Regions from separate parts of the Homo sapiens genome. Here all the other regions are linked to region 1. Evidence: promoter capture Hi-C in 16 types of primary human blood cells and fetal thymus (Javierre and others, 2016). All regions are on one chromosome and are shown on one strand. Each heading gives the region's core, a stretch centred on a gene start or on the middle of the fragment in contact. The rest is flanking DNA. Distances are from core to core; before and after follow the strand shown. Region 1 holds the start of PTGS2 (prostaglandin-endoperoxide synthase 2). Region 2 has its middle 41 kb from the start of PDC. Region 3 overlaps PLA2G4A (phospholipase A2 group IVA). Region 4 overlaps PLA2G4A (phospholipase A2 group IVA).

Region 1 (7,156 bases), core at 3,579-6,078:
CCCTCAAAGTGAAATATTTCATTCCACTCTTTTCTTCTTTGTATGGTATCTGAGAAGAAGTCAGATGTAATTCTTATCATTATTACTTAAAAGATTGCTTCTGTTCCTTTCTCTCTTCTCCTTCCCTTCTTTCCTTCTCTGTATATTACACCTTTTATAGTTGCCCCATATTTCTTAGATATTATGTTTTGGTTTTCTTCTGTGTTTTTTTCTTTGATTCTCAGTTTTAGAAGTCTCTATTTATATATCTGCAATCGCAGGGATTCTTTCCTCTGCCATGTCCAGTCTACTAATAAGCCCTTACAGACATTGTTGACTTCTGTTCCAGTGTTTTTGATCTCTAGCATTTCTCTGATTATTTCTTGGAATTGCCATCTGTCTACTTACATTACCAACCTATTCTTGTGTGTTGTCTTATCATAGTAATTGCAGTTGTTTTAATTTCATAGGTATTGTAATTTCAACATCTCTACCATATTTGACATTGATTCTGATGCTTGCTCTGTCTTATCAAGCTATGTTTTTGTCTTTTAGTGTGACTTCTAATTTTTTGTTGAAAGCCAGGCATGATGTACTGAGTGAAAGAAACTCAATACATTGTAATGTGACGATAAGAGTTCAGGGGAAGTGAAGCATTCTATAGTCCTATAGCAGGTCTCGGCCTTTTAGTGAGCCTGTGCCTATGAACGGTGACTTTCAACAAGTGCTTTTCATTCCACTCTTTTCCTGTCCTTAAGTGGGACAAGATCACTGGGGGGGGGCTAGAATTGGGTATTTCCCTTCTCCAATGTAGAAGCTAAAGAGAGGGCTGGAGTTGGGTATTTTTCTTCCCCTGTATGGAAAGCTAGAGGCAGTTAAATTTGGATATTTTCCTTCTTCTAATTCAGTTAGGCTGCGACAAAAATCCCGACAGTTTAGGCTCTAATATTATAAAATAATTTCTCTTGAGTATAGGCCTTATTAAGAACACTATACTCTGATGGAGCTGAGGGGGAGTTTTCTCTGATATTCACTGCGAGAACCTCGTAGAGCTCCAGGAAGCAAAACTCACAAAAGTGTGGGAGTCTTCCAGAATTTTTCCTTTGCAGACTTATCTGCACTGAACCTCCAGAAATTCATCAATTACAGTTCAGGTTTTCCTACCCAGGTACTGGTTTTCATGGAGGTTTCTGCCTGTGCATTTCTGCTCCAGTAAGTTGTTCTTCTTGTATGGTCTGTCTTTCAAATTTTTTAAGTAGGGTTATGACCTGTCGCCTCACTTCTCTGACAGTTCTGAGAGTGTTGATTTTTCAGTTTGCTTAGATTTTTACTTGTTTTTAGGATGAAGTGACAATTTCCAAGCTCCTCCCTGACATGCCAGATCAGAAACTGAAAGTCCTAAGCCTCATATTCTGTGCGTGGGTATGTTCACATCCTGCCTGCTCCAGTGCCCCCACCTCACACTCTCTTTCCCTTCCTTGTCCCCTTGTGAGATTTCTAGGTCCAATACAAAGACTGTGTTCAACTCATTCAACTACTTTGGCTCATCTGAGTATTATAATGAACAATCACAAAAAAAAATGAAGTAAAAGAAAAATCCATCAAAGAATTGAGATATTTGAGAAAAAGAAAGGAGATCAGTGTTTTATAAAACTTAGAAATAGATTTTTTAAGTGTTTCTTCATTGACTTATGTGAAAGGACTTTTCTTAATTTAACAAATTATGTGCTTTCGTTTATAGCCTCAAAACTTCTTGTGTAGCTAAGAATGGGTAAATAATCAGGCTTTACTAAAGGACTAACGTAAAGATCTTCTGTAAGTAACATTTCTGCTACTCAAGGAAGAGATAAACTTCATGGCATAACCTTGCCAAAGTATACTAAGAATAACCCTGACACAAAGCTCTTTTTTCAGCCAACATGCCATGAAAGAAAGAAGACAAGGGGTGATCTCCACTCTCTAAGTGAACCACTAAACCCACCAAAGAAGAAACGAGGGAAATAGAAAGAGGACCCTTGCCTGAGATAATGGATCTGTATGTATGAGTAGTAGAACCCTGCTCAAAGTACAAGGAAGGGAAAAAAAAGTTAGTTTATTTGGAATTTTGGACATTAAGAGTCTTTATTGTTCATTTTCTTTTAACTCACATGAATGGCTTATCACTTCAATTAATAAATATTTCATTTCTTTTCAACATATTCATGAAACAAATCTGAAATGAACAGTGCAACATGTGAATGTTTAGAACATTATAAAATTAAACACAAAATCTGTCTGGCAATCTTCCTAGCATCTTAGGAAAAAAGTTGACAAAATTTCAAGCAGCAGAAGGGGGCAGTAAAACTCAACAGAAAGCTCTGGAAGATTTTTAAGATTCTTCCTTATTTTCTTTTCATGTAGATTATTTCCCAACAAATTTCAGACGCTAATAGAAATTTTGTACAACAGATCCATATATTTGCCTAAAATAGACACAGAAACATTGAATATATGCAAACATGAGAGCTATAAGTTTTACATGATCAAACCTTTTTTTTATGGTACACAATAGTCACAGTACTTTTCCATATAAAACAGGTTTAGTGGTCTTAATTTAGTTTGGCACATTTAATACACTCCCATGACCAGCATCCCAAATGTACCTATCCGTTTTATTTTATTGTCTCAGAATTGTCAGTTATTTAATAAATTATGTAACTTTTTTCCTTATGCTCAGATTTGCACTTCTTTCTAAAACTCTGCCCATCCTTAAAGTCCCAGATTCTCCTTGAACTTTTTTTTTTGACTTTCCAAGTACATGGAACTCTTCACTCTATCCTGCTATATAAGTGACAGAATTTCCACTATGGGATAGATGGAGTTCAATTCCTTTGAGTTTAAAATAATCTAAATATAATTATTCCTTATGCCCTGTTTTTCCCTCACTTTTGTATCCAAATCTCTTTTCAGACAACAGAACAATTAATGTCTGATAAGGAAGACAATGATGATGATCACTTCAAAATGAATTCAGGATTGTAATGTAAAATTTTAGTACTCTCTCACAGTATGGATTCTAACATGGCTTCTAACCCAAACTAACATTAGTAGCTCTAACTATAAACTTCAAATTTCAGTAGATGCAACCTACTCCTTTAAAATGAAACAGAAGATTGAAATTATTAAATTATCAAAAAGAAAATGATCCACGCTCTTAGTTGAAATTTCATGTAAGATTCCATGCAATAAATAGGAGTGCCATAAATGGAATGATGAAATATGACTAGAGGAGGAGAAAGGCTTCCTAGATGAGATGGAATTTTAGTCATCCGTGTCTCATGAAGAATCAGATGTGTACACTAAGCAAAACAGTTAAAAAAAAAACCTCCAAGTGAGTCTCTTATTTATTTTTTTCTTATAAGACTTCTACAAATTGAGGTACCTGGTGTAGTTTTATTTCAGGTTTTATGCTGTCATTTTCCTGTAATGCTAAGGACTTAGGACATAACTGAATTTTCTATTTTCCACTTCTTTTCTGGTGTGTGTGTATATATATATGTATATATACACACACACATATACATATATATATTTTTTAGTATCTCACCCTCACATGCTCCTCCCTGAGCACTACCCATGATAGATGTTAAACAAAAGCAAAGATGAAATTCCAACTGTCAAAATCTCCCTTCCATCTAATTAATTCCTCATCCAACTATGTTCCAAAACGAGAATAGAAAATTAGCCCCAATAAGCCCAGGCAACTGAAAAGTAAATGCTATGTTGTACTTTGATCCATGGTCACAACTCATAATCTTGGAAAAGTGGACAGAAAAGACAAAAGAGTGAACTTTAAAACTCGAATTTATTTTACCAGTATCTCCTATGAAGGGCTAGTAACCAAAATAATCCACGCATCAGGGAGAGAAATGCCTTAAGGCATACGTTTTGGACATTTAGCGTCCCTGCAAATTCTGGCCATCGCCGCTTCCTTTGTCCATCAGAAGGCAGGAAACTTTATATTGGTGACCCGTGGAGCTCACATTAACTATTTACAGGGTAACTGCTTAGGACCAGTATTATGAGGAGAATTTACCTTTCCCGCCTCTCTTTCCAAGAAACAAGGAGGGGGTGAAGGTACGGAGAACAGTATTTCTTCTGTTGAAAGCAACTTAGCTACAAAGATAAATTACAGCTATGTACACTGAAGGTAGCTATTTCATTCCACAAAATAAGAGTTTTTTAAAAAGCTATGTATGTATGTGCTGCATATAGAGCAGATATACAGCCTATTAAGCGTCGTCACTAAAACATAAAACATGTCAGCCTTTCTTAACCTTACTCGCCCCAGTCTGTCCCGACGTGACTTCCTCGACCCTCTAAAGACGTACAGACCAGACACGGCGGCGGCGGCGGGAGAGGGGATTCCCTGCGCCCCCGGACCTCAGGGCCGCTCAGATTCCTGGAGAGGAAGCCAAGTGTCCTTCTGCCCTCCCCCGGTATCCCATCCAAGGCGATCAGTCCAGAACTGGCTCTCGGAAGCGCTCGGGCAAAGACTGCGAAGAAGAAAAGACATCTGGCGGAAACCTGTGCGCCTGGGGCGGTGGAACTCGGGGAGGAGAGGGAGGGATCAGACAGGAGAGTGGGGACTACCCCCTCTGCTCCCAAATTGGGGCAGCTTCCTGGGTTTCCGATTTTCTCATTTCCGTGGGTAAAAAACCCTGCCCCCACCGGGCTTACGCAATTTTTTTAAGGGGAGAGGAGGGAAAAATTTGTGGGGGGTACGAAAAGGCGGAAAGAAACAGTCATTTCGTCACATGGGCTTGGTTTTCAGTCTTATAAAAAGGAAGGTTCTCTCGGTTAGCGACCAATTGTCATACGACTTGCAGTGAGCGTCAGGAGCACGTCCAGGAACTCCTCAGCAGCGCCTCCTTCAGCTCCACAGCCAGACGCCCTCAGACAGCAAAGCCTACCCCCGCGCCGCGCCCTGCCCGCCGCTGCGATGCTCGCCCGCGCCCTGCTGCTGTGCGCGGTCCTGGCGCTCAGCCATACAGGTGAGTACCTGGCGCCGCGCACCGGGGACTCCGGTTCCACGCACCCGGGCAGAGTTTCCGCTCTGACCTCCTGGGTCTATCCCAGTACTCCGACTTCTCTCCGAATAGAGAAGCTACGTGACTTGGGAAAGAGCTTGGACCGCTAGAGTTCGAAAGAACTCCGTGGATATTCCAGCTTTCCCACAAGCACTGATCATTATGAGCCAGTTACTTAACCGATCTGAGACACTCTCACCTCCTAAATAGGGATAGATGATACTAATTTGCAGGTTGTCATTATGATAAGACAGGATCTGATCAATATATGTGAATTGTTTATATTTGGAACCTTTTTATTGAGTGGAAGAAGTTGTTTTAAATATTCTAGTCAGTTCTTTCCTGCTCCCAGGAAAGCCCGGATTATGTTTTAAGATAAGCAAAATGTCTTAAAAGTAAGCTGTTTTACTTTGAATTTTTCCCTAAATGTTGATTAGTGTACTAGATCCATTTTAATTTGGAAAGTGAAGTGCTACTTATTTGAACTTCTTAAAAATGCTAATTTTAACATCTAAAGAGTTAACTAAGAAAAGCTTAGTAACATGATGTACCAAGTTGAATATGCTGTTATCCTTATTTAGAATAGAAAATTGGTATTTCTACGTTTTATCCATTCTAAGGCAGGTTAAAAAATTGTATTTCCATGACTACCTATATATTTCTTGAATTTATTATTGTAAAGTTGATTCATAGTCAAACAATTAAATGTTTAAATTAAGATTAAGACACTAGAGAATGATTTATTTGCTGTCCTTTAATTGCAGCAAATCCTTGCTGTTCCCACCCATGTCAAAACCGAGGTGTATGTATGAGTGTGGGATTTGACCAGTATAAGTGCGATTGTACCCGGACAGGATTCTATGGAGAAAACTGCTCAACACGTAAGTTTGTCCTTTGGTTGCCTCATTAGGAGTGGGGCTGGATACAGTTATCATTGTATAGATTTGTGTCTTATAATGAGTCCCATTAATTTCTCCCTCCCTTTCTTCGTCTTCTTGCAGCGGAATTTTTGACAAGAATAAAATTATTTCTGAAACCCACTCCAAACACAGTGCACTACATACTTACCCACTTCAAGGGATTTTGGAACGTTGTGAATAACATTCCCTTCCTTCGAAATGCAATTATGAGTTATGTGTTGACATGTAAGTACAAGTGTCTTTCTAAGGTTTTTAGCCTTCTCAAAGAAAAATATGCTTTATAATACTGTAAGCCTAATCTAAAAACATATTTCCAAGCTTATCAAAAAGACTTTAAGATAGCTTTTAAGTTTGCCTTCCATCTTAATCGCCAAAAATATTGACATTTAGTCCCATCCAGTTTATACAGTCTGCTCACAACTCTGTATACCTCTTCTAACCTTTACTGTTTGGTCAGTTTGTGGAGGTAGCATGGTCCAGCTGTTTATTGAATGCCCATGGGCCACAGAATTGTTCTGAACATGTAGCACCCATTAAAATAAATTTGGATTTGGATCAGCAAGAAAATAACTTTCCATGATTCTAAAGTGGGTGCCATACTCAGCCATTCCTTTCATAGGCCTCTTGGATAGTGAGCAGATGGCTACCTGAAAAATCAATATTGCCAGATTATAATGTGCAGAGTATATGTATTTTATTAAAGATGTATTTCAAGTGGCCATTAGACTATAAAGTGTAGTTGTTTAAAAATAGATTTTTTTTATTTTGGAGTTACATTCAACCTCAGGTGCCACTTTCCACATTTTACAATAAAAATAATGGTTGATTTACTTAACAAATGAGAATAAATAAAACATTTTTTTCTTTGAAAATTTCAGCCAGATCACATTTGATTGACAGTCCACCAACTTACAATGCTGACTATGGCTACAAAAGCTGGGAAGCCTTCTCTAACCTCTCCTATTATACTAGAGCCCTTCCTCCTGTGCCTGATGATTGCCCGACTCCCTTGGGTGTCAAAGGTGAGTAAGAAGAATCCATTAGAGATGTATTAACTATAAGACGGGCTGCATTGCTGCCAAAAAAAAAAATTGACCTTAGACTACCATTTATTTATTAACAAAAGCAGTTTTTACTTTTAGCATGGTTATCTATGGGTATTTTTTAAAGTATGAGTCTATATAAACT
Region 2 (6,713 bases), core at 2,796-5,295, 180 kb after region 1:
TGAAGGAAAACAAACAAACAAACAAAAAACCCTGCAAACCAAGAATACTGTAGCCAACAAAACTATCCATCCGGAATAAAAGTGAGATAAGGACTTTCTCAAAAAAAGCTAAGGGAATTTATTACTACCAGACTTGTTCTAAAATAAACAATAAAGGGAATTCTTCAAACCAAAATAAAAGGATGCTACCATGATTGTTACACTGATATTGTAATCATGATGTGTAAACCACTAATATTTTTACTAAGAAGACCAAAAGATAAAACTGTTAAAAATACTAATGACTACAATGATTTGTTAAGAGATTGGCAATATAAAATGTAAATTATGACATCAAAAATTCAAAATGTGAGGGGAGAAGGGAGTTGTTGTGTAAAGGAATTTTTATTGTCATTAGTTTGTAAAAGTAAACAGATGAAGATGTACTAGGCAAATGCTAATCACAAGAAAACTGAGTCATATTGATAAAATATAAAACAGGTTTATAATATAAGAAATATTGGTAGGGATAGACAATAAGAGTAACAATGGAACTTAAACTTGAGATAAATGGCCTCTTTCTTCTGCAAGTCTATGTAATAGTCCCAATATTTTCAGACTTTCTTCCCCTTTCTCAGTGCCCCCAATGAAAAAGCCACTGAATTTCTACTTCCTTTCCTCCTGTTTTGCTTGTGTCCTCTCTTCACTAGTCTCATGGTAGTTTTTAATCCTTCTTTCATTAAAATTTCATGAGTTTTTCATGATTATGATTCATCAGTCCAGAAATAAGTTACAGGAATCAATATTTTCATAAAGATTCAGAAGGAATTCTAATGTGCATCCAAGATTGAGAACTGCTGGCCTAGAGCAACTGAAGGGGAAGCACTGAAGTCTTCTGCTCTTGTGGGTCTCACCAAATGTACTTCCTAACTAAAAAATAATAGTCATAATAATAATAACAGAAAGATATAAATATTTAAGCACAGGAAGGTCAATCAATCAGAATCAACCCAAATAAGAATAAATGAAGGTATATTATAATCAGACTCACAAAGGTCAAAGACAAAGGGAGGATCCTGAAAGCAGCAAGAGAAAATAAGCAAACAACATATAGGGAGATCCTATCTGAAGCACTGCGTTTTGCTGCCTCCCAGTTCCTCATGACCCATCCTCACCCTCAATTCTGCCACTCTGAACTTGGAGAAATTTATAGGGCTCTGCAAGGGATTCCAACCTTTCCCAGGTGAGCTTTGCCTTGAAATTAAGTGGATTTAAGTTTGGTCAGTCTAAATGTTCTCCAAGCCTGTTCTACATATTGTAGCCAGAGCCTTCTTTCTGACCTCAATCTAGTATCCTTCTGCCCCACTACCTAACGTGTACCCTTCAATGGTCTTTCACAGCCTTTAAATAAGGTGCAAATTCTTTGACTTGGCTTATAAAGCCCTCCTTGATCTGGACCTTGCCTTCCTATCCAGACTCAGCTCCTACCACTAGTTCCCTCAAATGTGATGTGCCAGTAATATGGATCTTCATTCTTTCTTTACACTCATTGTGCTTTCTAGTCTTATGTCTTACATATGTTTCCTCTCCTTAAAACTCATTGGCCCTCCTCCCTCCACTGCCCTTGACTACCCCTCCCCTTCTACTCTTTACCTGCCTAAGTCTAACTCCCCATTCAGCTCTTAATATATATTTTACTCCCTGCAGATGGCCCTGAACTTCTAGGATAGATTCCACTGTTTCCAAGCAACCCAACATCTGTATTTTTGAACATTAATCTGACTTATAATTAAATTATTGTAAAGTACTATTTGTCTGACTTCCAGGAGGGCAGAGATGAGTGTGGCTTGTTCACTTCTGGCTGTCCAGCAATGAGCACAACACTGGAAATGAGGGGAATGCTCAATAAATATTGAATGAATGAATGAATGGTTACCTGATGGGTAAAGTTTCTAGTTTTGCCTACCTAGTTCCCTTTCCCCATTCTCAGACCCTGCAAATACTGAAGCTTAGGTGAGTTAAAAGGCAGAGAATTTACGATGTGAGTCAAATTTGAGTAGACAAACTTTTCTGAATAAAATGGCATGAGAAATGCTAACGAGGTTAATCTTCAGTGAGAAATCGTTGATTGTCTTAGATGCTCTGACGTGAAGCCAGTTCATACTGAAGGCTTCTGTTCCTCCCCCTTTCATCCTGAGGATTCAAATCCCTGTGCTTTGCTTATAGTCATTGTTTACATAGTCCATCTAGATATATTTTTCCTTTTTAAAATTATATAAATCCTTCTCTCTTGTGCCTTCCATGGCATCTTATGTATTGAAAGTAAACCTTTGCTAATGACAGTATACTATCTGCTGTCCACTTCATATGGCAAACCTGGTCATTTGTCTGGAATGAAAGTTTTGTCTCTACAAACTTATATGCCAAGCATGTCAATTACCCTTGATTCATTCCACACTCATTCATCGCCCTTCTCAAAATAGCTCTTAGAAACTCACTCTTCTCATAAGTAAATAGAAGAATTCCAAGAAGTGGAATGAAACAGGGAAGAGAATTCAAGTGAAGCATGATCATAAAACACCCACACATCAACAACATACTATTACTCCCTCCGATACACATGATCATTGTCTCTTAAAAGCAAAACAAACAAAAACAAAAAGTCCAGGTTAACTGTCCTTAAAATAATGTCTCAGAAATCCTACCATTGTTTTCCCAGAAATATTTCTGTCATAGAGTCTGATAAATTCGACATTACTTTTCATTGTAAATATGAATAAAATATCACTGCTATACATTGAGACAAAAATCTTTGTTACTTCTATTTTAATTAAAATGTCATTAATGTTTAATAAGAAAAATTATATATGCTACTTACATATCTTACATACCCTAAATAACAGGATAACCCATGTAACTTTTTTAAATGTTAAAGGGAATAATTCAATGCAAAAAAAAAAAAAAAACATTGTGACCAAAAAAGAGAATGGACATGAATGCCTAATGAGCCAAAAGTATATCCTATGGCTCAAAAAGTAACTAGAAAAACCCTAAATTAACAATGATACATCAGAAAAATACAAATAAACTCAGTAAAATCTCAAATATAGCTAAAACAATAACTAAACTGAACAGTTAAGAATTGTGAAACATTAAGCTAAAGGCATTTCTATGTGCACCACACTAGTGATCTATATTGAGAACGTAATATCCCAAGATAAAGGAATTTTTATACCTGAACATTCACACTTAGTAACAGAATTTACTAGCTGGAAACAGACAAGATGATAAGCTAAAACTTGTATGAAAGTTACATGGAATTGTGGGACTATTGAAAAGTTCAAACCACTATATTCAGCCTCTCCTTTTAATGGACTTTTCTATTTCAGAGTAGACAAATGGCTCTAATTCTCCATTCATCAGAAAAAAATTCAGGAATTAAGGTCATTATTCTTATGAACTCCCAATTTAGAGAACATGTGCTTCCAATCTTCTAATATGGGGAGATTTCTGCCAGTGTTTCCAGAAAAAAAAATTATATGCACATGTAATTGTTCATACTGTCTTACACTGTTTATAACCCACTCATTTCCTCTTTTCACTCTTAGCTCTGTTCTAGCCATGAGCATATGTTACTAATAGCTCAGTACCATGTTATGCTTTTTTTTGGCTAGGGCATCTTTTCTTGCCATGGGCCTCAATCAAAACCAGAAGTCTTTCCAGTCACCTGGCAAATGGCAAAAGCAGGATACACAGGTGGGTATATGCTCATTCCAAGGCATATCAAGTGTTGGGACTCTTTCTCAGTGGTACAAGGCCCAAAGTATTGTAAATTGTTTTTCCCTTTGGTGGGGATACCTTGACATCTTCCAGATGTTCTCTTAGTGTTACAGCAGAATCTAGTATCAAGGTTGTCTGGCCTTCCTTTCATTCAAGGGAATCTGATCCTGTAAACAAGTAATTTTAGGAATTGGCTAAGGGATCTGATCACGACTTTTTTCTTTTCATGGCTTAAGGCTTGTTTGTTAGACCTGGAGTTTTTGTTTCTTTTATGTTATGTGGTTGCTCTACTCCCAATTTTTTCCTAGGGAACTCATCCACAATCAATTAGAAGGAGGCAGATAGTTTTTCCAGGCAGGCCAGTCTGATGATCATGCCAAACCACTGCCTGTGATGTGAAGGTCTTGCCTGCTCTGTCCCACTCCCATGGTACTGCTCACTGTAAATTAAGTATTTCATAACAGAATTTCTGGACTAGAGAGAACAGTATTTTAAACAGATGTATTCAAACAGTTGTTTTAAAGATACTTGTGTTTTCTTCAATATGTATTTCAGGTGTTTGCTGAATAGGCTATCCTCTAGACCCTTTAGATTTGACTATGTCTATAATTTCTAAAGTTAAACATTTCTATTATTCTAACATGTCAACTTTCTTTGACACCTGAATGCATTTGCATGTTTCAATTTGTGTGTGTGTGTTAACTAAGACAAAAATAACTGTTACAATCAACTTAGCTAGTCTATTTTATACAGAATCTCTGGTACATTAACCACATTGACAAATTCAGTAAAACTAAAATCATGCTGCACTCTCCTTGGCCAAGCGTCCATAAAATCTATTCCCACATATATTTTCCACTTTAGGATTAACAAACATTGGCATTTTCCTGCTTGCCATTCTTTTGTTGTGCAAAATTTCATTTTCCAAGATTGATTTTGGACTCTGGGGCATGTCAGGGTATAATTCTAATTAATGATTTATGGATGAAAATATGTGGGGCATGAGCAAGACTGTTGACTTTTTTCTCAATGTGAACTCCCTCAGATGAAGCTACATGGGCATGTACCAGCATGAAAACAAACTAGCTTTCTGAATAACAAAGAAGTGTCATTTTCTGTCAAGAAAGGCTCAGTGGGGACTTAGAGGGGTTTGGGGGTTTGAATTACTCTGATGCCTCGGGTTTACTTTTTCCTAATTGATGCACTAACTTTCATGTAAGAAATATAGCAAATTCTGATAGTAGTCATTTTTGCTGTGCACCAAAAATTTTCAATTCTTATACCGGATGGAATTGTACATTCTTGCCCCCTTGAAATTACTAAAGTACATATGACTTGCTTTAGCCAAAGATATATGAGCAAATGTGACCTCTCTCACTTCCTTTAGATGCCTTAAGAGCCAGTGCACAATTCCTCACACTTCCTTTCTTTCCCTTTGCCACAATGACCAGCAATGCCCCAGATAGTCACTGCTGCACCAGGCTGGGTCCTGCAGTAAGGATGATGCAGAGCAGAACTGCCAACCAACCTGCAATGGATACGCAGTACAAGTGAGAAATAAATTCTTAAGTTTTAAGCCACTGACATCATGGAGTTATTTTGTTACTACAGTGTAACCCAGCTCATCCTGACTGATATGACTGTGAATTCAACTGGTGATTAAACACTGAGTTTAAATCTTGGCTCTCTCAGTTCAGTATGTACAAGATATAGGAGATATTTTCAACAACTTTACATAAAGTCCCTACGTTTACATCCATTTTTTAAAATGATATTTTAATATCTTGGGCTTATCATTTTTTTTGCTTTTATTCTTCCAATGCCATCAGAAGGAGCCTCCTTACACTGCTGTTTTTGAATTCCTCACAACCATTATGTTATTTCATGGTAGAACTAGTCTAAGCCTTCAAACTTTATCTTTTAGATATTTTTTCCCAAGTGACTGTAGGTGATAACTCGCCTAGCCTCATTATCACAGGGCATCATATTTGATATCTCACCCTTCCCTCAGGATCTTTGTCCTGAGATTCCTCATCACGATGTCCCTTGCTTAAAAGCAGCAGAAACTGACTTTACTGTAAACAAAAGAGAGTCTATTAGAAGGATATGGGCCTCTCAGAGAAGACAGGAAGTTAGGGGACCAGAATTGATATGGGAAAGAAACCAAGGGAACTCTGGAAGACAAGGGAAAAAGAAGCAGGAGATAATAACTATCTTAGAGCTGCAATAGCGGTTGCTTTCATGAAAGACTTTTGGCTGTTCTCTCTGTCCTTGTATCACTTGCTCAGACCTCAAAGCCTTGGGGAAAACTTTCCAATTAGTGGAGCTTAAATCACAAGCTTACCAACTAGCATTTCAAAGAAGTGGGAAAGAATTGTTCTGACCCATTAAAGTTACAGGCAGAGGTGGGCCTGAAATTCCCTCCTAACACAATTATACACAATGGGAGAAAGGTAAATCCTCAACTAAATCAGTTCTACTAGAAAGAAGAATAGATGCTAATCAACACCACCACCAAAAAAAGATAGTTGTTTGCTAGAAAGTGAGAAAAGGAGAGAGTAATATGGTCCTTAACAAAAGAGAGTTTTATAGCTTCCTTATGTTATTAGGTTATTATAAGAACACAGGAAGTATTCACTTATCAAATGCATTTCTTTCATGCAGGGTCATGTAGTTGAAGACACTTTAGAATAATACAAACCTTAATTCAAACCAGGGTCTGTCATTAAGTGGATGCTTTGGGGCAAGTTCCTTAACCTTTTTGCATCTGTTACCCCGAGAGTTGTCTAGGGGATTCTGAGTTAATATGTATAGAATGCCTGACACGTATCCTGCACTAAATAAACATTAGTTTTCATCCCCTGTGTATTATTAGTCAGGGTTTGTCAGAGGAACAGAACTAATAGAATGTGTGTGTGTGTGTGTGTGTGTGTGGTGTGTACCATAGATAGATA
Region 3 (6,690 bases), core at 3,695-6,194, 190 kb before region 1:
AGCTACTTATTTCAAAGATAAAAATAGAGCGATGATTTTGAGTCAGGTGTAAATGTGAACTTCAAACTGCCTCTTCCTATGAACTGTAAACATAAGAATGCAGAAGGAGTCATCACTAGAGCACTGGGTATAAATGCTGCATTTGAGTAACACTGAAATTAGCAACCATGTCTGGGAAGGAACTGGCAGCTGTCTTATTCTTGGCTTGTCAATGCCCTCAAGTGAAAACAAGGAATGAAAGAGATGCTATAAATTAAAATGTCATCTCTGACTCTTCAAAAGACAGTTTATTGGTTGTTGCTGATTTTATTCTGAGGTTTTAACAGTGCAGAAGCATATTTCTAAATGTAGGTAGTTAGGGTAGCATGATTTATCAAAGGACAAAATAAAAAATAGATATAACCTTAGCACTATCCTCTTTAAAAGGAGATATGAATATTTTACCAAGAATTAACTAGTTGATTTTTTATTTGTCTTGGTACCGTTGAGAAAGCACTCAGACACACAAGCAAGGCAGAAAACTCCAATAGTAATCTATCATTCTTCTTTACCAAGATGTAGAATTTTATGGAACTCTACCTTTATAAATAAGTGCAGACACTATCAACAACAGAAGAGGATGTAGAATTCTGCGATCCTGGTCTTCACAGATCTTAGGACTTTTAAAAATAGTTCTTATAGTTCTATTCTTGTCTATGTTTAAAGAACTGCTATATACAAACACCCCAAATTCAGCTATTTGGTAATTTGTATAGATCAAGCTCTCCAAGAAATATCATCAAAATTCCTCTCAGAAAAGTGATGGCTAATACCTGTGCCTTTTCTCACCAGAGTCTCCCACAACTTTTCAAAAATAAAGTGGTTGGCACTATATATCATCTATTCACTTTTCCTTAGTAACTTTATCACTATATTTATTTCTCTAACACTCCTTCATGTTCTTTTTGTCTCTTCCCGACTCTTGTGCACTCATTAAGGTGATATAAATGGTCGACAACAACTCCCTCCCCACACACACACAAAAGTAACAATTCAAAAAAAAATCCAATTACAAATGCTGAATAAAAATTCTAACAGAATGCCATAACACTGTCCTTTCTGCCACAGCAATTAATCTTCAGTGGCCATTCCTTCCATGGGTCCTTCACTTTAAAAAGGAAGCTTCTAAAATTAAGAGTCTAATCTGTGTTATGTACACTGTGGGGAACCAAAACCTAAATGTTCCCTGTCCCAGGAGATTAATTAATATCTCAGGTTCATTCTTCTAGTAATATTATCAATATCAATTCAAAGAGATTTAAAATGAAACTTTCAGCATTACTTTTTTCCCTATTCTAATTATAATAAATAACCATTGCCAAAGTGCCTGGGCCTACCATGAAGTTGCTAGAAAATCAGATCCACACCAGTTGAAAGAGACTCATGGAGTATAAAGTTTGAACTGCTGTTGGACTCATCTTAAGCACAATAACAGCCGTTGTCTCTACACAACAGAACGCTTCATTGATTAAAAAAAAGGGGTGGGGGGATTGCTGCTGCTTTATCTAACAGATAATAGCTGTATTTTTGAAAGTCAAATTAGCTCTGTCTTTTGCATGCCTGACAAGCTACTGACACAGAATTTAGTGGAATTAAGAATGGCTTTTCCAACACACAGCGTGGCCTCTTTGGTTGTAAAACGCACGCCTTTTCTTAAGAGTATGGTGGGTAATAGTGTCTAAATACAGCTTCTAATGAGGCTTCTCTTTCGCAGGGGCCTTTCTTTCAGTAAATTCTCATTTAAAATGGTGAAAATGAAAAGAACTGTAAAAAGCAAAATAAGAATAACTTCAGAAAAATATTAATAAAGGGATGATTAGATGGGTTAAACTGAAGTCTGAGATAAAATTTAAAATGTAAACATCTGATCGAAGCTAGTTTTGAAGAAATTGCCATTGCTCTCCTCACCTGTCATGAAAACCACTGCTCAGCCAAAACTCTTGCTGTTAGATTCTACCTAACAATCCTCTCCTTGCTTCAGACATTTACCAACTTCCTGGACTCTCCTCATTCACTGATGATATGAGCCTTAAGCTCACATTCTTTCTTTTCTTAGTATCTAACTCCTCCCTCTTTACTGGCATTTTCATTGCCATTTCAACAGGCTGAAGTCCCTCCTGTTCTTTGAAAAAAAAGAAAAACCTATTTTCCACATTCCTCTCCAATATATTTAACATACTACAGTCACAACATTTTGAAAAATGAAAATTCAGTTGTGTGACTTACTACTTAAATGCCATCAAATTCTTTCCATTGCATTAATGAAAAAATCTCAGTCCTAAGTCTTTGTCTTACCAGGGCTTATCATCCTAGTCTCATCTGCCCTTCCAGCCCCCACCTCCGTTATCTATTCTCTAGTAATATTGGGTCGGTTCTAGCTCCTCACAAGCATTCTGGTCTTTTTGCTTTGGAACACGCTGTTTTCTCTGCCTAGGACTTCTTGCTCTCATGACCAAGATACTTCTCCTTTAGGTACCAGTTTAAATGTCATTTGGGCTGGGAACCCTACCTGTTTCCTGGACGATACATTGCAATCTCTGTTCTCTTTCCCAAAACCTGTTTTGAGAGTTAAATTATCCATTCCCATATTAACAATCTAAGATGTTAAATCTAAGACATTATTAAATCTAAGATGTTATCAAATTCATCATCATAATACTTTGTTGTATCCATTGTTATTTGTATTCCCACTTGCACGAATTCCAATGATTTAAATAATAAGATTCTACAAGGAAAATTGCCTTTTTTAAAAACATGGAGAAAGATACTGTCAACAAGTTAATTCAGCATTATCCTCAGGCTGTGGATCGCATCATTTCAGGCTGTCCTATACCAGTTTCTATGGCTATTCCATACAAAATAAACACACTCAAAGGCATAAGAACTAGAGAAAAACTACATTTTAACAATTCTAAGTGCATAATACCTCACAGAGGCAGCTTGTTTAAAGTCTTTACTCAGTATTCTTTTAGAAGCAAAATTGAACAAAATTTCTTTGAATTCCCAAGATGTGTACGTCACAAGAAAATCATTTTGTCTGACTCCAAGTGATCTCGGCTAATTTAAGGCCCAGGTAAAATGCTGTTCTGACAGATAGCATCAGAGAACTGTTCGAAATGTTATCGTTCAAAGATCCAGACAAACATAACCACATTTGAAGAAGGCAGAACCTCTGATTTGTCAAGGAACTCAAGTAATTAAAGGCTGAACCATAATTATACGTTTAACAGCAAAGAAAATAAGGGCACTCTTACGCATGTCACCAAAGGCCCCCTTTGTCACTTTGGCTAATTTAAGGCCCAGGTAAAATGCTAATCTGACAGATAGCATCAGAGAACTGTTTGAAATGTTATCATTCAAAGATCTAGACAAACATAACCACATTTGAAGAAGGCAGAACCTCCGATTTGTCAAGGAACTCAAGCAATTAAAGGCTGAACCATAATTACATGTTTAACAGCAAAGAAAAAAAGGGCACTTACGCATGTCACCAAAGGCCCCCTTTGTCACTTTGGTGGCACGTAACACCACTACCGTAAACTTGTGGGAATACTGGTGCTCCACCTGGAAATAAAATGACAGTAAATTTAAAATAAGCTTCCAACATAGAACCTCATTTTTTCCTTGAGATTAATTTAAAATATTCTACTTAAAAACAAGTAGCATGCATACCAGAAACATTCTTTGATGTAAGGCTGCTTCTTTTTTGACTCTCTTCTCTCTCATCACAGAATCATTGAGTTTAGATTGTGCCTTAAAATGTCACTACAGCTTGACTATGAGCACTTCTTTGCAGTCCAGTTTACCAAGCACTTGGTAAAAAATGTAAATCAGGACTGCAGGTATTCTAGGAGCACAATCAGGCTTTGTACTTGTTGACTAGGAAGCCCTGGCTTATAAAGGTGAACTCAGAGCAAGACATTCTAGATTCGTTTGTTGTTGTTGCTGTTCACTGAAGCAGTCAATCAAAAGTCTTTTCTGCATGACATTTCCAGTACAGCTTTCAAAACCCTATGGAACCAAGGCAATAAGCAGCAAACAAATTGCACTAATTGTAATGCATTTGTTAGAAATCATATGCAAGAATATTAAAATTTGCTATTAGCCTAACACCTTGCATAAACATAATAAAACATTAACAGGTAGAGGACTTCATTAGACACTTCACCTAAATGGGAAACAGTTATCAAACAATTCTACTCACTAAAGCAGAATGAGGAAGCAGGAACTCACATAGTTCTTGGAGCAACTGAGAAGATTACAAGGTCTTTATCTAAAACTCAAACATTTCTTGTTTTAATCTTAGGAGAGTTCACTTCCCTTAATTTTAGTAGGCTTGCTTAACTGGTTGAAAAGTTCATAATTGATTAAAAAGAGGCTCAGATACTGACAATACTGAAAAGTGAGCAGTGACAGTCTAAATGCAAGGAGGCAAAAAAAATTGTCAAAAGTGTAGACAGATTGATAAGGACCAGCAGTAGTAGAATATATGGACAAAAATTAGACAGCACTCAATAGCTTCTGTAGAAATCACTCCATCAATAATGTAATTAATATTTCAATTTATAGTACAGCATCAAAGAGGTGAAGACATGAATAATGAGCATACCTTGTTTAAAAAGGCAGGGAAGCATAAAAATCTTTCAAAATAATGCTTATTCAACTTTATTTAAAAAAAGAAATACCTTCAACATCCAAGAGTTGAGTAGCCAAAGTTTTATTATACATAAATGATCAATCATAAGAATATTTGAAACTAAATGAAATTGACAGTACACCTTGTCAAAATTTGAATGATGCCTTGAAAGCAGTACTGAATGGGAAATTTATAGCACTGAATGCATATATTAAAAAAGAAGAAAGAACTAAAATCAATAATCTAAGTTACCACCTTAGGGTACTGGAAAAAAAAGAGCAAATTAAATCCAAGGTAAACAAAAACTAATAAAAATTAGAACAGAAATCAATAAAATTGGAAACAGGAAATAGAAAAAATCAATGCAACCAAACTTTGGTTCTTTGAAAAAATCAATAAGATCAATGAGCCATTAGCCATGCTAAGAAAAAAAAAAAAAAGGATGAGAGAGAGAGAACAAAACTACTAATATCAGAAATGATAAGGGACATTATTACAGATCGCGTGGACATTGAAAGGATAACAGAAGAAATACTACAAACAACTCTATGCTCACGAATTTGATAACCTAGATGAAATGGATCGATTTCTTAAAAGATAGAATCTACCAAAATTTACATAAGAAGAAATAGACAATCTAAATAGGTGCATATCTATTAAAGAAATTGAATCAACAATTAATAACCTTACAAAACAGAAAGCACCATGTTCACATGGTTTCACTGTTAAATTCTACCACATGTTTAAGAGGAAACTATATCAATTCTTGTATCGATTATCTACAATCTTTCCAGAAGATAAAAGCAGAGGGAATGCTTCTTAAATCTTTCTTGGAGGCCACCATTACCCTAATTCCAAAACCAGACAAAGTCATTACAAGAAAAGAAAACTACAAGCCAATATTTCTCATGAACATACTTGCCAAAGTTCTCATCAAAATATTAGCAAATCAAGTCCAACAACATAGAAAAAGAATTAGACACCGGGCGGGGCCCAATGGCTCACGCCTGTAATCCCAGCACTTTGGGAGGCGGAAGCGGGCGGATCACCTGAGGTCAGGAGTTTGAGACCAGCCTGGCTAACATGGTGAAACCCCATCTCTACTAAAAATACAAAAAAAATTAGCCGGGCATGGTGGTGTGTGCCTGTAATCCCAGCTACTTGGGAGGCTGAAGCAAGAGAATTGCTTGAACCCTGGCAGCAGTGGTTGCAGCAAGCAAGATAGCGCCATTGCACTCCAGCCTGGGACTCCAGCAGGACTCTGTCTCAAAAAAAAAAAAAAAAAAAAAAAGAATTATACACCGTGACCAAGCGGGGTTTATGTCAGATACACAAGGCTGGTTCAGCATTCAACAGTCTATTAATTTAATCCATATATCAACAAGCTAAACAAGAAAAATTACATGATCATATCAACAGATGAATAAAAAGCATTTGACAAAATTTAACATCCATCCATAATAATAAAAAATTTCAGTGAGCTAGAAATAGAAGGGAGCTTTATCAACTTGATAAAGGACATCTACAAAAAACCTATAATTAATGTCATATTTAATGATGACAAAATGGAAGCTTCCCCGAAAAGATCAGGAGCAAGGCAAGGAGTTTCCCTGTCATCACCCTTTTCAACATTGTACTGGAAGTCCTATTTGATGCAATAAGATAAGAAAAGGAAATAAAAGGCATATAGATTGAGAATGAAGAAATAAAACTTTGTTTACAGATAACATGAACGTCTATGTAGAAAACCCAATATAATCAATTAAAAAAAAACTCCTGGAACTAATTATGTGACTATAACAAGTTTGCAGGAGATAAGATTAATACACAAAAGTCAATTGCTTTTCTATATACAGAAATGAACACGTAGACTTTGAAATTAAAAACACAATACTACTTATATTAGCACTCCCCAAAATGAAATAGTTATAAATCTAACAATGTATGTAGAAGATCTATATGAGGAAGAATACAAAATTCATATGAAATAAATCAAGGAAGAACTAAATAAATGG
Region 4 (7,455 bases), core at 87-2,586, 170 kb before region 1:
TTTATCTTATTAATAGAGACATCCCTAGTGCCGAATACAATGGCCCAAATATAGTAGGTTCAGAATAAAGATTTGTCCAATGGATGGATGGATATTCAAAGTAGTGCCAGGTTGATGCATAAAGAATCCACAGAATAGTGCCACACCCTCTTTTGATGTCTCTCTTTCTTATTCCTAACAATTCTTAATGTCAAATGATGTTAAATTAGCTCTCTATTTATTTAAAAAAAGCAGAACAAGTGAGATTCCAGAGGGGGTGAAATTAGTACTCAAAATGTTTAGAGGAAATCTGTTGCTGGGATCCAAAGTTTAATGTCAGCAATTTTATTTCCTCTTCTCATTTCCAGCAACTTCATTCATAACCACTCTGTTCACCACCTATTATCCACTACTGTATCTTACAGCAAGACTTGGATAGAGACTCTCCTGATATTAAATCCAAAGCAAGAAATATGCTTAAGATAGCTAACTGTCCAAGTCTAGTTTCTCTCTCTCCCTTCTCTGCCCCCTTTCTGTGTGTATGTATGTGTGTATGTGTGTGTGTGTGTGTGTGTGTAAAATCACTAGGTTAAGAACTACAAGATAACTAGAGAGTAAACAAACATGACTCATGGCATTTAATCTCAAAGCAACTTTGTCTTGTTCTTTGATTCTATTCAGGGCTAACTCTCCTTCTACCCTGATGAAATCTCAGGCAGCCTCAGAACTTTTCTGTTAACTTGGATGTGAAAGGAAGAAAAGAAAAAGGAAAAGAGAAAAAGAATTAACCCAGTCACTGCAGACATTGAAATGCCGGGTTCGTTGAGTTAAAGTCTCTCTCCTGCTCAAGGTAGAGCTTGTTGCAGGAGAAAGGGGATGAAGTCATTGACTTCTCCCCTCCCCTGCCTATGGTCAAACCCTCCCAAGCTTGATAACTCTGGTTTTTAAACCCTTATAGTTGGAAAAGGATGCAGAGAGAGCGAGAATAGAGGCAAGAAAAATATTACTTCAGCAGTACTTTTATAAGCTGGTTTTGTGATCTCTTGGCTTGGTACATGTTAAAGCTGAGTCTTTCTTTCATAGATGCTTTTTGTGGATTCTTCTGAGATTCTCTGTTTTTGAGATTTCTTCCTTGTGTTCCCTGACATGCACAAACGCATCTCTACTCCAGCTGGGGGCTTGTGTTTTTTTCCACAGCCCCAGTGCATCTTGTGGTCCACTTCCAGTTTTCGTTTTCTGAGGTTCTTTCATGTTACCAGGCAAACGCCTTGTATAGGATTTAAGATTCTTCCCAGGGTTCTCTTTAGTCCATGGACAATACTCATACATGTTTTCTTTCTTCCAACAAACCCTGAGAATGCAATTACTTCCTAAATGAAACTATTCTGCTACTTGTGTCCTTTATATTTCCCAAGTATGACAAGACACCAGCCTACTGCAGAAGACAAATGTTAAACCCTCTGATGAGCGTTCTCAGTGGTCTCTTTAAAGCCCCTCTCTTGATTGGGAATTAGTAGGCATATTCCTCTCCAGATCTCCACCCCAAGGGAAGAGGGGCTGTACTCACAGCAGTGCTCTCCAAAACAACAACAAAACTCTTCTGAAGCTCTTCCCACATCTCTACTATTTCAATGCTTTTATAACTGTGAAGTGGGTAAGTTTTATATATTATATAAATGTCCTTGTCCATCTGCTTTCTTTAAAACACAAAGAGTAGGCTGTTTCACTATCCATTTTAGTAGTGCATGTCTTAAATCTTATGGCTTAAGGTCTTGGCCAAAGCTTCTACTTTAAAGTCCAATACATAGGTGAACCAGCTTACAAAATGGCAGAACGAGGAATGTGGGAAATCCTCTCCCAGAAAAACAAACACATTGACAAAACCGGGCAGAATTATTGCAAACAACTATAGACACACACACACACACACACACACACACACGTATGAAATAATAGCACAAAAGAAAGGAGATGGAATGGAGGTATACTGGACCAAGGAAATGACACCAGATCATAATTGAACCTACAGAAAGAAATACAGGGTACCAGTAAATAAGCTCTATCACATTTTCAAACAGCAGACCAGTTATTTACCATTTCTCTGAAGCCTTTTCTATTTAACTGTAACAGTAAATAGGTAGGTTAATATAAAATAGTCTATAAATATTATATTGTTCAAATATAAATATATATGTAGATTAATATAAAATATTCTATAAACATTTCCTTTTCTTCTCTCAAATTCTTTAAAAGATATAGCATTTACATAGCAATAAATTATAATCCTATCTAATGTATACAACAATAATTGCAAAAAGGAGGAGCGGTCAGGGACTAGAACTATACTGCAGAAAAGTTTTTGTATTTTACTGGAATTAAGACAGTATTGATATGAAGCGGACTATAATAAATTAAGGCATAGAGTTTAATTCCTAGAGCAACCACTAAGAAAATAACTCAAAAATATAGTTAAAATATCAATGAAGGAATTAAAATGGGCCACGACAAAATAGCTATTTAATATAAGGAACAGAAGAATTTAAAAAAAGAGACATGGAAAACAGCAAAATGGAAGATGAACATCCAACCATGCTTCCAATAACATTAAATGTGAGCGATGTAACATTCTAATAAAAAAGTAGAGGTTGTCACACCGGATAAAATTGAATGTATATAAAAGACTAATGGAATCCAAATAAGGTTTGTCGTTTAATTAATAGCACTGTACCAATGTCAGTTTCCTGGTGTTGATAATGTACTGTGGTTGTCAGATGTCACACTAGGGAAAGCTAAATGAAGGGTACATGAGAGCCCTGTAATATTTTTGTAATTTCTTATCTTAAATTATTTCAAAATAAAGTTTATTTTAAAAATGTAATACATATGAACAGATCTAATTTATATTTATAAATTTTATTCCACAGTTATGTTCAAGGGAAGAAACAAAGACCTCCTATGAAGAAATTACTGAAATAGAATCACTTCCTTCAGGATAAAAATCACTAGCCATTATTGTCAGGCAGTGGCTGCATGTCCAATTCCAGTTAGGAATAGGCAGCCGTCCTTTCTTTTTTCTCTCTGTAACTGTTAATAGTAGCAGCAGATATTTTAGGTTTCTGCAAAATTAAGGCATTTCTGTCCAACTAACCACATGAAACAGTAGGAATTTTTTGTCCCAGAATTAGCTCAGTTCTGGAAACCTTACTGCAACTAGTTGGCACAACCACTCTCATGAATACTCATAAAATAGCAGGGTTTCTATTCCTTTGTTTCTTATAACTAAGCTAAATAACCAGTCTTAGTGAGTGTACAAAGTCTCTTAAGTCTGAAGTAAGAGATGTGAAACTCACAGGGTTTTTTTCTTCCTTTCTTTTTTTCCTTTCCCTGCCCTGTAATTAGAAACTTTCAGAACATGAATGAGAGGGAAATTTGGATAGACTTTTCAACAGATACTTCCCGATGCAATGTAACTGTTGGCATTCAATGAAAGTTTAATAGTATGTGGTCTTTCCAAAACGTTTAGTCATGTTGTCAGGGCAAGATGGACTTCTCAGGAAAAGTGAACAGAAACAAAAACCCAGACTAGAGTGTTTTGTCACTTCTCTCTCTGTGTACAGTGATATGACAAGGGGAAAAAGAGGGGATATTATTAGAGTTGTGGCATGTGGCGGGAAGAGGGATAGGAATGCAAAAGATTCTTTTCTCTTTCCCTCCAACTCATTGTATAGACGCGTGGAGATATTAAAAGGTTGAGCATTTAAGTGGCAGCAACTTCTTGACTGCAGCCAGAATGACCCAAGTTCTAGCCTGTCTCCTCCTTTCTCTATCTGTGGGATCCTGACCCTCAGTTTCCTTGTCTGTACGTAGGGAAAATCGCCCCTAATCCTCACAGAGACAGTGGGAGGATGAAATAAGAAAATATATGTAAATCACCAAGCACAGTACCTAGAAGGCCATAAATGTACAAAATAATCATTATTATTATCATTGTTTATGAAACTGGTGATGATCCCCCTCAAACTGCCTCAACTCATGCAAGTCACAAGTATTTAATTCTATAGAGAGTTTTTGTTTGTTTGTTTGTTTTGTTTTTTTGATGGAGTCTCACTCTGTCACCCAGGATGGAGTGTAGTGCAATCTTGGCTCACTGCAACCTCCGCCTCCTGGGTTCAAGCAATTCTGGGGCCTCAGCCTCCCGACTAGCATGGACTACAGGCACCCACCATCATGCTCAGCTAATTTTTGTATTTTTAGTAGACATGGGTTTTCACCATGTTGGCCAGGCTGATCTCAAACTCCTGACCTCAAGTGATCCACCTGCCTTGGCCTCCCAAAGTTGGGGGATTACAGTGTGATCAGGTGTGGCCTTGGCCTCCCAAAGTGAGGGGATTACAGGTGTGAGCCACTGCACCTGGCCTCTATAGAGATTTCTAAGAAATTCAAGTAGGCAAATTTATTGAGCACCTTTTATAAACACCAAGTACATTTTCATATACAACAATAAATTTTTTTTATTATACTTTAAGTTTTAGGGTACATGTGCACAACGTGCAGATTTGTTAAATATGTATACATGTGCCATGTTGGTGTGCTGCACCCATTAACTCGTCATTTAACATTAGGTATATCTCCTAATGCTATCCCTCCCTGCTCCCCCAACAGGGATCTAGAACTAGAAATACCATTTGACCCAGCCATCCCATTACTGGGTATATACCTGAAGGATAACAATAAATTTTTAATAGAAACACTGATTTTTTGATCCATTAACATTTTTAAAAGTAGAACACATTTGGACACTAACTTGTCCGCTGCCAAATTCAAAGCTTTCTCCACTATACTGGATATGGAAGCATATTCTAAAAGCAAAGAGAGCATTATATTACTATGTTTCCATCATCATCATTCTTATAATGATATATAGTTACTAAGACATCACTAAAGTTTTAAGCTTTTAAGTGAATTTGATGGTGCTTTTTTTGTAAACTAAGGCTATACAAAGAGTTTGATATTGCCAACCGGCACAAAGGAATAAAGAAACAATAGGAATTCAGATGGGTAAATGAGATGCTTTATATTAAAAATGTCTCTCAAACCATACTCTCAGTTTACGACAGGAACACCTCCCTGTTCCCAAGGAAATGTAACAGCATGCCTCCAGACACAAAGGCACAGAATAATTAACTATGTCTGTTTCTTGAGCCTGGAACCCAATGGTATGGAACTTGCCACTAAGTCCCACAGTAGTAACAGGTGGTGCCATATGGCTGATATCCATACTGTTCCTTTTAAGATTTCCCTCTCCATTTGTATTCCTAAGTCACAGCTTCTTAATCTATCAAATTTGTATTCTTCAAATCTCATTATAATTACATAGACAAGTATATATGAAATACCTACTAGAGTTTCAGAGAAGAGAGAGATTCCAGTGGTTTAAAGTAGAAACGGCTTCAGAGAAAATGGTAACTGATCTGACATTTGAAAACGTGAAAGAGCTTAGATCTATAGTAAGAGGAAGTGGAAACATTTCCTCTAGGAAAAGGCCATGACGTTGGAGATACTCCATCCTCCTCAGGCTCTCAACTGGTGCTTTCCTTACCCACACCTCTGCAGGATCATGTCCGCCTGTCATTCAGGGTTCTGCATAAATTCACTCTCTAAAGTCAGTCATCTCTTAATTTATCTACTAGATTAGGACCCTTGTACCTTTCCTTGAAATCTCTTATCACAATATTGTATACTAGACTACCATTATACACGTGTCAGTCTTCCATAGCTGTGAGCAGCACAAAGGAAGTTCTGTCTTCTCCCTGTATTCCTGTTGGGCCCGGAGTGATAATTCAATTACTATTGACTGAAGGATGAATAAGCAAACTGGGGGATTTGCATGATGTACTGGAGAAAACTGTCTAGATCATAAATGTGCTCTTGTCTTAAGAAACAATCAAAAGGAAGTAGATTACATTTATAGAATCTAGAATGTGAAACTGGAATATATCTTAGCAGTTGCTAATATGAACACTTAATTTTGAAAATCCACACTTGTTAAACATTTCCCAAGTACAAGATACTTTAAGTGATTTATATATACCATCTCATTTAATCTTTATAACAAGATAGGGATTATTATCACTACTTTTGAGATTAAAAAAAACAGATTTGGAAAGGTAAGTAATTTGTTTAACTGACAACACAAACTAAGGTAGACTCCCACAACCAATCTCTACAAAAGAATAACTGTCTCAAGAAGAATAAAAAAGTTCCCAGGTCATCTGGGTTAACATGGGCTGAGCTGGCCCTAGAATCCCCTTTCTATGTCATTTTTTCACTCTACAAAAGACCCTGAAGCACAGGCAGAGTTTCTGAGAAATTATACAATAAGCAATAGAGTTATTCGAGTCTTAGCAGGGAGGTGGCATGATGAAAGTGGCACTTTGTGTTAGTTTACGAGGGTTGCCATAACAAAGTATCACAGACCGAGTGGCTTAAACAATGGGAATTTATTTTCTTACAGTTCTGGAGGTTGGAAGTCCAAGATCAAAGTTTGGCAGCTTTGGTTTCTCCTGAGACCTCTCTCCTGGGCTTGCAGATAGCTGCTTTTCGCTGTGTCCTCACATGCTCTTTCCCCTGTGCACAGAGTGCCTGGTGTCTGTGTGTGTTCAAATTCCCTCTTCTTTTAAGGACACTAGTCAAATTGGATTAGGACATGCCCTACCAGCCTCCTTTCAATTTAATGAGGACTTATCCCCAAATACTTTTACATTCTGAGGTACTGGGATTTAGGTTCCAATGTATGCATTTGGAGGGGGCATATTTCAGCCCGTAACAGGTTTTAATGACATAAACACAGCAGTTAAACAAAGCAGCATACAATTGTTAGTGGAGAAAAGTGGTGCTGTAGGAGGGAGGGAGAAAATCGGCCAGAGAAGTCCAGATGTGATATAAGACATGATATGCAGCCGGGCGCAGTGGCTCACACCTGTAATCCTAGCCCTTTGGGAGGCCAAAGCAGGTGAATTGTCTGAGCTCAGGAATTTGAGACCAGCCTGGGCAACACTGTGAAACCCTGTCTCTACTAAAATACAAAAAATTAGCCAGGTGTGGTGGTGGGTGTCTGTAACCTCAGCTATTCAGGAGGCTGAGGCAGGAGAATTGCTTGAAACCGGGAGGCGGAGGTTGCAGTGAGCCGAGATCACGCCACTGCCCTTCAGCTTGGGCAACAGAGAGAGACTCCATCTCAAAAAAAAAAAAAAAAAGATATGATATGCATCTCAACTAGGATGGTGAAGATTATAAAGGAGAGAGCATAGCTCCTTTAAGATGGAGCAGCTACCCTCATCTGATTATTTAAAAAGCTCCCCGCAACCCCTCACCAACATATACATACACACATTCTACATAAACGAAGCACAAGGATAACGTCTAACCACTTCACATTTGGGAAGTACTAATCCAGATAAACCTGTCCATCTTAAG

What was found. Contacts are between HindIII fragments. The CHiCAGO score rates a contact against its expected background, and 5 or more counts as called.
Region 2: a fragment that was not itself captured here is called in contact with the fragment with the promoter of PTGS2 in region 1 in 1 of 17 cell types (neutrophils); the score reaches 6.4 in neutrophils.
Region 3: a contact is called between a fragment that was not itself captured here and the fragment with the promoter of PTGS2 in region 1, in 1 of 17 cell types (neutrophils). The highest score is 5.4, in neutrophils.
Region 4: a fragment that was not itself captured here is called in contact with the fragment with the promoter of PTGS2 in region 1 in 1 of 17 cell types (monocytes); the score reaches 5.3 in monocytes.

Annotation. Positions count from the first base shown.
Region 1 is chr1:186,678,095-186,685,250 of GRCh38, reverse strand. It overlaps PTGS2 (prostaglandin-endoperoxide synthase 2), which reads left to right and starts at 4,828. Exons shown (of 10, transcript NM_000963.4): 1 at 4,828-5,012; 2 at 5,813-5,929; 3 at 6,050-6,193; 4 at 6,847-6,990. The coding sequence starts at 4,961. It overlaps PACERR (PTGS2 antisense NFKB1 complex-mediated expression regulator RNA), which reads right to left and starts at 4,597. Exons shown (of 1, transcript NR_125801.1): 1 at 3,805-4,597. RefSeq lists an enhancer at 6,478-7,156. The HindIII fragment of the contact is 7,534 bases long and covers 1-5,583 here.
Region 2 is chr1:186,499,118-186,505,830 of GRCh38, reverse strand. No RefSeq gene overlaps it. Among named protein-coding and RNA genes, the nearest start is that of PDC, 41 kb to the right of the region's middle. The HindIII fragment of the contact is 4,111 bases long and covers 1,990-6,100 here.
Region 3 is chr1:186,867,348-186,874,037 of GRCh38, reverse strand. It overlaps PLA2G4A (phospholipase A2 group IVA), which reads right to left. Exons shown (of 18, transcript NM_024420.3): 3 at 3,522-3,603. Among named protein-coding and RNA genes, the nearest start is that of PLA2G4A, 42 kb to the right of the region's middle. The HindIII fragment of the contact is 2,611 bases long and covers 3,639-6,249 here.
Region 4 is chr1:186,841,824-186,849,278 of GRCh38, reverse strand. The region is part of intron 1 of PLA2G4A (phospholipase A2 group IVA); the gene reads right to left. Among named protein-coding and RNA genes, the nearest start is that of PLA2G4A, 17 kb to the right of the region's middle. The HindIII fragment of the contact is 855 bases long and covers 909-1,763 here.